Linked DNA regions of Homo sapiens: regions 1, 3 and 4 are each linked to region 2. Evidence: promoter capture Hi-C in 16 types of primary human blood cells and fetal thymus (Javierre and others, 2016). All regions are on one chromosome and are shown on one strand. Each heading gives the region's core, a stretch centred on a gene start or on the middle of the fragment in contact. The rest is flanking DNA. Distances are from core to core; before and after follow the strand shown.

Region 1 (2,963 bases), core at 148-2,647, 38 kb after region 2:
CAGAAGTTGATTCCAGGCTTGTATTTGTGTCTGTTAATTTTGGTTTTACAGGTACATACTTGGGATCCACACAGCACTTAGCCTCAGTTTTGCATAATATATAGTATACTTCACTTTCTTTACATGTTGTTCTGCACCTGCCTGACTTGCCCCAACATTTCATGACTGAAAACAAAAGGGAAGAAGAGAATAGAGTCAGTTTTGAAAGAAAGCAGAAAGGTGTGAAAGGAAGAGGCTAAAGCCCAGTAGAGGAGTAGGAGGGAAATGAGGAGGTCTGTGGGGAAGAAGCTCTTACACAGGATCCCCTAAGTTTAAGGGAGATTATAGACCACTACGCTTTCTTCCTTCACTTGTGCCCCCTGTTAGAACCCCCAGAGTCCCCCCAACTCAGTGGCATAGGACCTACTGGATAGCTTCCCCTCCTTGGCCAGCTCCTTGGGAGGGGGAAGAGGACCCCTCTCCCAAGGGTTTTATCTCCCCCATATTATAATGTACCCAGGTGCCCAGTAGCAATTAGCCACCTTTTCTCATTGTTCTTTGGTACCCCCTCTGACCATATCAATGAAAGGTGACAGGAATATTAAATAAACTCATTTAACATCTGTAAGTCTTCTAGGGCACCTTTAAAACTCCCAAGAATATCATACTGCCTTCTTCACAACATCCTGGGACTTTTCTCTGGCCCCAACCAGTCAAGGGAATTAGGAACAGCTATTCCAGGGAACCTACAACCTAAGGTAACCCAGATGATTTGAGGTTGCATTAAAAAGTGGAATCAGAATCCTCAAACAATCAGAAATTTGAGAACCATTTTCCTAGAGGCAACAATGCATCAAAATTCAAATCCTTTCAATGAATGTTTTTGAAAAAGTCCCCATTTTCTCTATACTCCATACCCAAGTCTCTCTCTTTACACCCTATCCCATCCTCAGGTCATCACGTTCAGCTTTTCCAGAGCTAACCAGAGATAAGGTTGGAATGGTCAAGTACTGGGCACTGGGAAGACCATTTGGTACCAGAGAACTCAAACTTCCCCATAACTAGAGAGACTACCTAAAGGCCTCAATGAGCTCTACCAGGCCATTCTCCCAGCCCAACCTGTCAGAGTCCCCAGAGTTCTCTGAACATGCATCAGGTTTCCTGACTCCCATCCCCTTCTGGAGATCCTGTTTACCTGGGGTGACCTGGGCCAGGAGCAGAGTAACAGTCAAAAGCAGAAGAAGGAGCTTCATGAATGATGAATGATCAGGGAGGGATAGGAGGCTTCTCAACTGGTAAAACAGACAGAGGACTCCATTCTGGGCAGTCCAGACTGGTATTTATTGCCTTGAGGAGCATGGCAGAGCCAAGATCAGTGAACCAGAACGGGAACAGTCATTTGAGATCAGACAGGCAGGCAAGGAAGGTATCAACCACACTGCCTGAGGAGGCTGGGAGAGGGGGAAGGGACGTTAACAAAGAGAAGATACGGCCTTGCCTCTGAAGAATTTTATAATACAGCTGGAGAACCAAGAAGGGGAAAAATATTTTCATCTCTAATTTGTTTTTCATTAATGAGAAAAAAAGAGAGAGAAAAAGAGATAAGACAGAAAAGGAGTGATACTTCTCTGCGCCTTGGGTTCTTCCCAGCAACAAGGACATCTTAGGATGTCCCATATGTTGATGATTCATTATAATACCAAATGAAGGGCAGAGCAGGGGAAAATACCTTAATAGCTCCATGGCCATCACCACTGGAAACCAGAATGTCAGTATTCATGGAGTGGAATGAGCAGGAAAGCCATAGCCCTTACTTTTAACAGTACATATTTAATAGGAACAAGTAGCACCCTCATAGGTAGCAAAAGAAAAGCCATTTATTATTGTTGTGGTCTTTTTTTTATTATTACTTATTTTTTTGAGACAGTCTTGTTCTGTCACCCAGGCTGGAGTGCAGTGGCACAATCATAGCTCACTGGAACCTCGAATTCCTGGTCTCAAGCAATTCTCCTGCTTTGGCCTCCCAAAGTGCTAGGATTAAAGGCATGAGCCATCATGCCCAGCTTGGTCTTTCTTATAAGAAATGGTAGATTGCCCCAGCAACTTGGGAGGCCGAGGCAGGCGGATCACAAGTTCAGGAGATCGAGACCATCCTGGCTAACTCAGTGAAACCCCGTCTCTACAAAAAAAAATACAAAAAATTAGCCGGGCGTGGTGGCTGGCCACTGTAGTCCCAGCTATTCAGGAGGCTGAAGCAGGAGACTAGCTTGAATCCGGGAGGCGGAGGTTGCAGTGAGCCGAGATTGTGCCACTGCACTCCAGCCTGGGCAACAGAGCGAGACTCTGTCTCAAAAAAGAAAGAAAGAAATGGTAGATTGTAATCTTGGCCCTACTTCTTCATCCCTACTTGAATTCACACATTTGCCAAGGTCTCATCCTAGGAGAACTCTATTTCATTTTCCCTTCACTTTGGCCTTGGCATGTGATTTGCTTTGGCTAGTGATATGTGGGCAGAAGTGACGGTGTGCCGGTTGTAAGCCTAGGTTTTAAGAGATGATGAATATTTTCATTTGCCCTTCTGTGTCTCTGCCATCACTATGAGAAGAACATGCCCCAGTGGTCCAAGGAGGATGAGAGATACGTGGGGCACAGCTACTCCAGGCGACTCACAGATCTACAGTGAGAAACAGAGCTGCCCCAGGCATTCCAGCCTCAAGCAGGGCAATCTAGCCAAATATAAAGGATTGATGTTTTAAGCCACTGAGTTTTGGAGTGGAACATTACATAGTAATGGCTAACTTATACACAAGGCCAGCAGATAGATCAGGAAAGAGCCAAGTGCTTTTTAGGACAATAATGGTAAGGTCTATCTTTCTTTTCTTTTTCTTTTTTCTTTAAGACAGAGTCTTGCTCTGTTGCCCAGGCTGGAGTGCCGTGGCACCATCTCAGCTCATTGCAACCTCTGCCCCCCGGGTTCAAGCAGT
Region 2 (3,051 bases), core at 194-2,693:
AGGCCAAGGAGGGAGGACCACTTGAACCCAGGAGTTTGAGACTAGCCTGGGCAACATAGTAAGACCTGTCTCTCCCAAAAAAATTTTTTTAAATATTCGGGCATGGTGGTGAATACCTGGGCAGTCCCAGCTACTCAGGAGGCTGAGGTGGGAGGATTGCTTGAGCTCAGGAGCTTGAGGCTGCAATGAGCTGTGATCGCACCACTGCACCCTAGCCTGGGCTACAGAGCGAGATCCTGTCTCAAAAAAATAAAAACATAAAACAAAATTAATTTGAAAATAGCCCACCACCATGCTACGCTTTCCACATGGTTCCATCCAGAAGAGAAGTCTCCTCAATCACATGGCAACCCTGCTAATTCCCATCAATTATTCTCACAGTGAAAGTTATCAATTCCAGAAGAGAAAAATCAGCAACCTCCTCTGTAAAAGCTTTACAGAGACTTTTAGAGCCGAGTAAACAAGAGGGAGCAAAAGTTGAAACACGATGAAAATGCAACTAAAGCAATGCAGGACCTAGGCTGACTCTGGGGGTGACATCGAGGTTCCACATCCCAAAGGCAAGTCTAAATGTTGGGGTCTTCATGGACAGCTCCCAGACCTCTGATGACCCTCATGGTGCCGTTGTCAAAGGTAACATCCCAAATTATTGTAGATCTGTCTTCAGCAGGGATTTTTTTTTTTTTTTTTGAGACAGAGTCTCACTCTGTTGCCCAGGCTGGAGTGCAGTGGTGCGATCTCAGCTCACTGCAACTTCCACCTCCTGGGTTTAAGCGATTCTCCTGACTCAGCCTCCTGAGTAGCTTGGATTACAGGCACCCACCACCACACCCAGCTAGGGAATTTTTTTTTTAATGACATTGGGTAGCATCCCCCTTTGAGTCTTATAAATGATCTCCCTCAAACTTCTGCAGCAAGTGACTTCTTGGGCAAGTCATTTTCCCTGTTGGGCACATATGTAAGAGAGGGATTTGGCTTATAGATTGACATGTGTTCATTATCGTTTATTTCCACAAACCTTCACTGAGAGCATGCTTCGTGCCTTGGGGGCTCAAAAATGAAAGACACGTTCCCTACTCTCAGGAATTTCACAGGCTGGTGCGGGGAGACACACAGATAAGTAGACCATTCAAAAGTAGGTTTATGCTAGAGTGAGAGGGGCTGTGAAGAAGGGCTGAGCCCTAATGAGAGATCGGGGAAAGCTAGGGAAGATGTCCCAGTGTGAATCTTCCCTCTCCATTGCTCCAAACACCTCCTCAAAACCTGTGACTTGTAACCCTCTGCATGCCCTCCCAGTGCCTGGATCAAATGCTCAGCTTATGTGCCACACACTAGACTGATGTTATGCATGGATAAGCTCTTAGATATCCGGCTGGTTCTGTGCCCATCCCTCTGCCCCCACTGCAGAGAGGCCAATAAAACTCTTGTTCAGACTCACACTGCACACAGTATTCTGAACTCCTGGATCTACCACCTCCTGCTTCCCAAGGACCATGAAACTCCTGCTGCTGGCTCTTCCTATGCTTGTGCTCCTACCCCAAGTGATCCCAGGTAATCAGAGGTCAGGGAAGATACAAAAATAGAGGTATAGTGGGTTCTGGCTCATGAAAATTCCAATGTGTCACGGTACTCCCCAACATGGGCAGCTCCACAGTTCCCACACTGGGACTATGCTCCTGGCTGGGGTAAAACCTGGGAGTAGAGCAAGTTATCCTCAATAGACAGGGGCAGTCCCACCATCCAGAGTTGTCCTTGGTTCTATATTCCAAGTTGCCGCCTAAGAAACTAGGGGAAAGCTCGGCTCACATCTGTTCTCTTTCCAGATTGTGCCAGCTTTTGAAAATGATTCCTGCAGCCCACTTTGCTATGTTTTCTTGGCCCTAAAAGTCCTGCTATAGCTATAATGAGGTTCTTTTTGTTTTCTAATATTCTAGAATTTGGTGAACAAGTCAGAAAACACTGGTAGAGCTGTTACACGGAAGACAGAACTGGCTTTTCTTCTTCCTTCTACAGTGAAAATCTAAGCTTTTCATAATCACTGCTTTCTTAAGTATATCTAAAGGCATGACCAGAACTTTGAAATCACTGGTGAAGAGAGCCTGTTTCTCCTTTATGTTTTTCAAGGTGCATTTCAATGTATGATCGAACTTACATAAAAATGAATCTAAATATTTCTGTTTTATAACGAAGTAAGCACACTCCCTGCATGGCTATGCAGCACTCTTGTGTTTTTTTTTTTTTTTTTTTTTGAAGATGGAATCTCAATCTGTCACCCAGGCTGGAGTGCAGTGGCGCAATCTCAGCTCACTGCAACCTCTGCCTCCTGGGTTCAAGCAATTCTCCTGCCTCAGCCTCCCAAGCAGCTGGGATTACAGGCATGCACCATCATGTCCGACTAATTTTTGTATTTTTAGTAGAGATGGGGTTTCACCATGTTGGCAAGGCTGGTCTCAAACTCTTGACCTCGGGTGATCCATCCGCCTCGGTCTCCCAAAGTGCTGGGATTACAGGCATGAGCCACCGCACCCGGCCCTATGCAGCACTCTTCTTTCACTTATTATTTTGTGGCCATCTTTCCATGTCACCATCTAAAGATCTGCCTTATTGTTTGTAAAGTTGTATAGTTCTGCTGTAGGATAAGCCATATAAAGTCATATATAGCCATTTGAGACATTTCTTAATTTTCGAACAAGACATCAATGAATATGCTTGTACAAACATTAATATATTTACATATATGGATATGGGCTTAAATAGGATAGATTCCTAGAGGGCAAATAACCAAGTTAAATGTAAGTCTGGTGGGGGTGGGCAAGAAAATTAAAAATATATATTTGTTCCATTAATTCCTCTATTCCTCTGCCCTCATTGCAGAGAGGCCAATAACTCTTGTTCAGACTCCCACTGCACACAGCGTTCTGAACGCCTGGGTCTACCCTGGCGTTCAGGGTAGGGAAACAGGGAAACCTCTCCTGTTTCCCAGGGACCATGAAACTCCTGCTGCTGGCTCTTCCTATGCTTGTGTTCCTACCCCAAGGGATTCTGGGTAAC
Region 3 (2,984 bases), core at 356-2,855, 54 kb after region 2:
TTTGATTAGGTATACTAAGAGACAAACACAGAAGTCAGCCAAAGATGTTTTAATAAAGCCCAGGAATCTACTGACATCAGACTTAAGGCAAGTTTATCTTCATTTTTGTGGCCTCAGACTTTAAAGCACTAATTCTTTATATGCTGTGGTAAATGTGGCTGGTCCTTGGGCTTCAAACAGCACAGTTTACCACTCACGCAGAAAACATAGACCCTTTCATTCTTCAGGCATTCGTCACGGCAGGAGCCACGAAAATTCCAACATGTTTCAATCCTGCCTATTACAAAAAGAAAAAAGAAAGGAGCTGATATCAGTTATGAGGGGAAATGAGTCCTGGACTGAGAAGACTAACAGAGGACCAGACAGAAGAAGGGGGCTGTAGAAGAAGGAGGCATTCCCTCTAGGTAACTAGGGTGGTGGTATTGTCTATCACCATATTGAAACTCAGGAAATATCCAGTGAAACCCATGAGCCCTTTCTAAAGAATCTACTAGAAAAAGAGCTGTAGACAAGCAAATGAGAGGAGCATTGACACAGAACTAAATATTAAATATAAAGATACTTGTAGAACCAAAATGAGGATTTTAAAAGAGGTAGTAAAGTACATAATGGCTATATGTTCTGACAATATAAATAGAGTACAACATAAAAATGAGAGAATAATGGTGAGAACATATGCAGACATCTTAACTAGTTTGAGTAATCATGACATTATGGTAGCATTGATATTATTTTACTAAGACTATTGTATATGTAATGAGAGATCAATCAAATGAGTAAGTCATGGGATATTCTATCGTCCCCTGTGACCTTGACAACCAGAATTCTCAGTATAGAAAAGAAAATACTGATGTAATATAAAAGTTGATTCTGAATTTGAGTTCTGAATTTGAATTGAAAATGCCAATATGAACTCACAAGTATTTTATATTTAAATAGATAAAATAAATAGATGATTGATGGATGGATAGATAGATTGAAATTTTTCCAGCTCTGGTCACTGAGAAAGTCTAGAAACAATAACTAACTAGTAGAAATTAGTATTCCTAGTACCCATGCTATAATCTTAAAATACTATCTCCCAGTAAACTTTTTTTAAAAAACAGGACTTCTTGGAGATATGGTGGATTCCAGTTCTTGGGCAGTAAATTACAAGATGATCTTGAAACATTCTGTCGTACCAGATACTAAGAAAGCACCAAAGATTAATAGGGATATATCTAAAAGACATACGAGCCAAATTAAAGAGACTCCTATTGGCCAAGAATAAGACAATGTATACTTCAATAGCGAAAATAATTGCAATAGATTGAACTCATTGCTTAGAATCATCAGTTCAAAATAAATAATATTTAAGAAAAACTAATGGCTTAACCTCAGAGGCTGATAGAAAACTAATTCATTATCTCTCAAACCAATTAAGCAAAGATAAACTCAAGCATTTATCCTGTCTTCCTCTCTGAACTCTCTAAACCCCAAGGTAACCAAACAGATGAGGGAAAATGCCTCTTTGATAAGGAGTTCAGCTAATAAATGAAGGTTCTTCCCAACATATCTGTACGGCTCACCCCTCACTTCCTTCAAGTCTTCATTTGAATGTCACCTTCTCAGTGAGGCATTCCCTTGACACCCCTTTTTAAGTTGCAAATTCACGTACCCTGATACTTGCTATCCCCTGCTTACCCTGCTCATTTCCTCCCCTAATAGAATCATAAGCTCCAAGAGGATGGAGATTTTGTTTGGTTGGTTGGTTAGTTGGTTGATTCATTGCTCTATCTCCAGCACCTGTGCCTGGCACACGGAATCCACTCAACAATATTTACTGATTGAACGAGTTATTTAAGCAATGACATGTCCACTATCCCCTAAATCCAGCTGCCATCCTGAGAAGAAGAAGGGGGTGAGGTGAAAGTAGAAATGCTGAAAGACTGAACATTTTAAAGCAAAATGAGCTAATCTGAGAGGTTCTTTTAAATCAAAAAAGATGAATACAATTGTCTTCTGAAGTTGTGTACATCCCTGTGCCCTTTCTAACTCCCACTTTTCCTACCAGCAGGATGGGAGTTCCTGGAAACATTCAAATGAATTACAGAAAATTTAAAAAGCTATATTTGTTGTACATCAAAATGTCAGTGTCCTCAATGTTGATCCTTCAACCTAATTTATTATTTTAAATTGAGAAAAGAATAAACTGAAACTCACAGGCACCAAGTAGTTTGCTGGGGGCATCACAGAACTTGCAAATGGTGAGGCAGGTTCTAAACCAGGATCTGGGGACTCTTTCCTCTTCCTCCAGACAATTAATATTTCACACTGCTCCCTGTCAGCCCATCCTCCCAGGCCCTGGTGTGCCCTGACCAAGACTCACTGTCTACTCCCAGTCCCTCCCCTAGAGAGGTCTAGGTTATCTGGAATGACTTGGAGGAAGAGCAGCAGCACAGCCAAAGTTACCAAAAAAGTCTTCATGACTTCAAGTAGCCCACAGAGTAGTCTCGGCTCTGGTGAAGTGGCAGGAAATGGAGGCGAGCTCAGGACTCTCTGCTGCCTCTAATCAGCTGGGAAGTGTGTCACTCACACGTGCCACTATCTGCCCATGGGTACAGTTTGCTCTGGGACAACCTGCCTTTTTTTTTCATGCTCAGTCACCATCCCAACACCCCTGCACCCAGAGTGTGGACCCCACACCCCTGAGCTCGCACGCCTCCCTTTGTCCACCATCATCTTTTAGGGACCAGCAAAAATAAATCATACAACACCCAGAAGGATACTTTTAAAAATGTATGTCAGCCCTTGTTATAATACAGCTTAAAAATCCTCCAAGACTCCACAACTAGAAAAAAAAAATCCACAATCTTTACTATGCCCTGCAAAGCCCTATATTCTCTGGTTTAGAAATCCACCATTATCATGGTTCTAATGTAAATGAAGCAAGCTCCTTTTTTCAAATGCAATTCCCAGTTTGAGAGCAGAGGAGTAAAGAAGAA
Region 4 (2,864 bases), core at 116-2,615, 42 kb before region 2:
GAGATACAACATTTAATATATATTCCATCTAGACATTGGAATGGGAAAGTGAGATACTGGCCAGCATCCATAACAAAAGTGGGCTTTCTCTCCTGGTAAAAGAAAATCATTTGTCCTTTCAGAAAATGAGTAACAAAATAGCTAAAGCCCTCGCCTATTAATAATTACTTTAAAGTAAATGAATTAAACTTCCCAATCAAAAAGGGAGAGTATATGAATGGGTTAAAAAAAAAAAAGAGTCAATGATATGCTGTCTACAAGAGACTCACTTTAGATTTGTGGGCACACATAGACTGAAAATGAAGGGATGGAAAAAAAAAATACTCCATGTAAAAGGTAACCAAAAGAAAGCAAGGGTGCAAGGATGGCTATACTTATATCAGACAAAATAGACTTAAAGTCAAAACTATCTCTAGGGACAAAGAAAGTCATTATAATGATAAAAGGGTCTCTAGGGACAAAGAGAGTCATTTATAATGATAAAAGGGTTAATTCAATAGAATGATATAACATTTATAAATATAAACCTACCCAACACCAGAGCACATAATTATATAAACCAAATGTAGACAGATCTGAAGGGAGAAACTGGCAACAATACAATAATAGTAGGAGACTTCAATACCCCACTTTCAAAAATGGATGGAATATACAGACAGAAAAAATCAATAAACAGCTGACTTGAACAATATTATAGACCAAACGGACCTAACAGACATAGAACTTTCTATTCAATAGCAGAGGACTACACATTCTTCTCAAGTACACCTGAAACATTCTCCAGAATAAATCACATGCTAGGTCACAAAACAAGTCTTCAGAAATTTAAGAAGATTGAAATCATATCAACCATCTCTTAAAAAAAATAGGTGGCCGGGCGCGGTGGCTCACGCCTGTAATCCCAGCACTTTGGGAGGCCGAGACGGGCGGATCACGAGGTCAGGAGATCGAGACCATCCTGGCTAACACGGTGAAACCCCGTCTCTACTAAAAATACAAAAATTAGCCAGGCATGGTGGCACGCACCTGTAGTCCCAGCTACACAGGAGGCTGAGGCAGGAGAATGGCGTGAACCCGGGAGGTGGAGCTTGCAGTGAGTCGAGATTGCACCACTGCACTCCAGCCGGGGCGACAGAGCGAAACTCCGTCTCAAAAAAAAAAAAAAAAAAATAGGTATAGGAGGAACTTAACACAATAAAGCCCATACTGAATCTCAACAATGAAAAGACCTCGACACTGAAGGCTCTCAACACTGAAAAAGCCCTTGGCAGACAGCCACAAAGAGATGCTAACATGAAATGAACATGAGGATAACTTCATCAAGCTGCCTGAAACCAGGCTTCAGTTGCTGGTCACCCTACACAAGACCAGAATCCTAAAAAAAGACCAGAACTCCAGCACACTTGAGAGAGTCCTATATTATTCATAATCAATGAATTGAAAAACTAACATAATCAATGAGGATAAACTGGAAGTTTTTTCTCTAAGATCTGGTACAAGGCTAGGAGGCCCACTCTTGCCGTTTCTACCCAATACAGTATTAGAAGTCCTAGTCAGAGCAATTAGACAAGACAAAGAAATAAAAGGCATCCAAATTTAAAAGGAAGAAGTAAAATTATCTCTGTTTCCAGATGACATGATCATATATATAGTAAACCATAAAGACTCAACAAAAAAACCCTGTTAGAACTAAGAAACTAATTCAGTAAAATCGCAGGATAAAAATCAACATACAAAAATCAGTGGCATTTCTATGCACAAACAATCTGAAAAGGAAATTAAGACAACAGTTATATTTACAATGGCAACAAAAAGCATAAAATACTTAAGAATAAGCCTAATCAAAGAGGAGAAAGGCTCGTACAGTGAAAATTATAAAACGTTGCTGAAGGAAATTAAAGAAGGTACAGGTAAATGAAAAGACCTCATGTTCATGGACGGGAAGAATTAATATTGTTAAAATGTTCATACTACCCAAAGTGATCTAGAGATTCAATGCAATCCTTATCAAAATTCCAATGCCATTTTTCACAGAAACAAACAAAAACACTAAAATTCATGTGGAATTACAAAAGACCCCAAAAAGAACAAATCCATCACACTTTCTGTTTTCAAAATATATTACAAATCTACAGTAAATGAAACAGCATGGTACTCACATAAAAACAGACAGATAGACTAACAGAACAGAATAGAGATTCTAGAAACAATTCTACACATTCAGTCACCTAGTCTTCAACAAGGATGCCAAAAACATACCCTTGGGTAATGGGTATTTTCTTCAACCTATAGTGTTGTCACCCTCATAGAGGCAGAGCGTACAATGGTGGTTGCCACGGTGGGGGAAGGGGAAAATGGGGAGATATTTGTCACAGGGTACCAAGTTTCAGTTATGCAAAGTAAGTTCTGAAGATAATATGCAGTATAGCGATTACAGTTAGTAATATATACGTGATATTTGCTAGTACATGGTAAGTGTTCTCACCACAAAAAAAAAGGAAAAAAATAGCAACTATGTGAGGTAATGGATATTTTAATTAGCTTGATTGTGGTGATCAATTCACAATGTATACATATATCAAAACAATTGTACAATGTAAACATATAAATTTTTATTTGTCAATTATACCTGAACAAAGCTAAAAAAAAAAAATTTGTTATCATCCCTCACAAAAAAACCATTAGTCCTTTTGTGTAAGACACAAATAATAATGAAAAGCGTTTTTTAAGAAACCCTTTAAAATAATAAATTGTCCTTCCCTCCTGTTGTGTAAGAGCTATGGAGCACTTATGCATTCAGCCTTGTGCTAAGCACCATAGGAACAAAGAAGAAAGCAAAGAGATGAGAATAAAAATTGAGGGTA

What was found. The method cuts DNA at HindIII sites, captures the fragments that hold promoters and counts their contacts. A CHiCAGO score of 5 or more calls a contact.
Region 1: a fragment that was not itself captured here is called in contact with the fragment with the promoter of DEFB118 in region 2 in 15 of 17 cell types (naive CD8 T cells, total B cells, naive B cells and 12 more); the score reaches 11.5 in naive CD8 T cells.
Region 3: a fragment that was not itself captured here is called in contact with the fragment with the promoter of DEFB118 in region 2 in 2 of 17 cell types (total CD8 T cells and M1 macrophages); the score reaches 5.3 in total CD8 T cells.
Region 4: a fragment that was not itself captured here is called in contact with the fragment with the promoter of DEFB118 in region 2 in 5 of 17 cell types (total B cells, naive CD8 T cells, naive B cells and 2 more); the score reaches 6.0 in total B cells.

The regions. Positions count from the first base shown.
Region 1 is chr20:31,404,921-31,407,883 of GRCh38, forward strand. DEFB121 (defensin beta 121) reads right to left here and starts at 1,295. Exons shown (of 2, transcript NM_001011878.3): 1 at 1,175-1,295; 2 at 1-165. The coding sequence starts at 1,232. The HindIII fragment of the contact is 7,039 bases long and covers 1-2,963 here.
Region 2 is chr20:31,367,158-31,370,208 of GRCh38, forward strand. It overlaps DEFB118 (defensin beta 118), which reads left to right and starts at 1,444. Exons shown (of 2, transcript NM_054112.3): 1 at 1,444-1,551. The coding sequence starts at 1,494. The HindIII fragment of the contact is 1,593 bases long and covers 431-2,023 here.
Region 3 is chr20:31,421,402-31,424,385 of GRCh38, forward strand. It overlaps the pseudogene DEFB122. Among named protein-coding and RNA genes, the nearest start is that of DEFB121, 17 kb to the left of the region's middle. The HindIII fragment of the contact is 3,840 bases long and covers 1-2,984 here.
Region 4 is chr20:31,325,247-31,328,110 of GRCh38, forward strand. No RefSeq gene overlaps it. Among named protein-coding and RNA genes, the nearest start is that of DEFB116, 18 kb to the left of the region's middle. The HindIII fragment of the contact is 4,460 bases long and covers 1-2,864 here.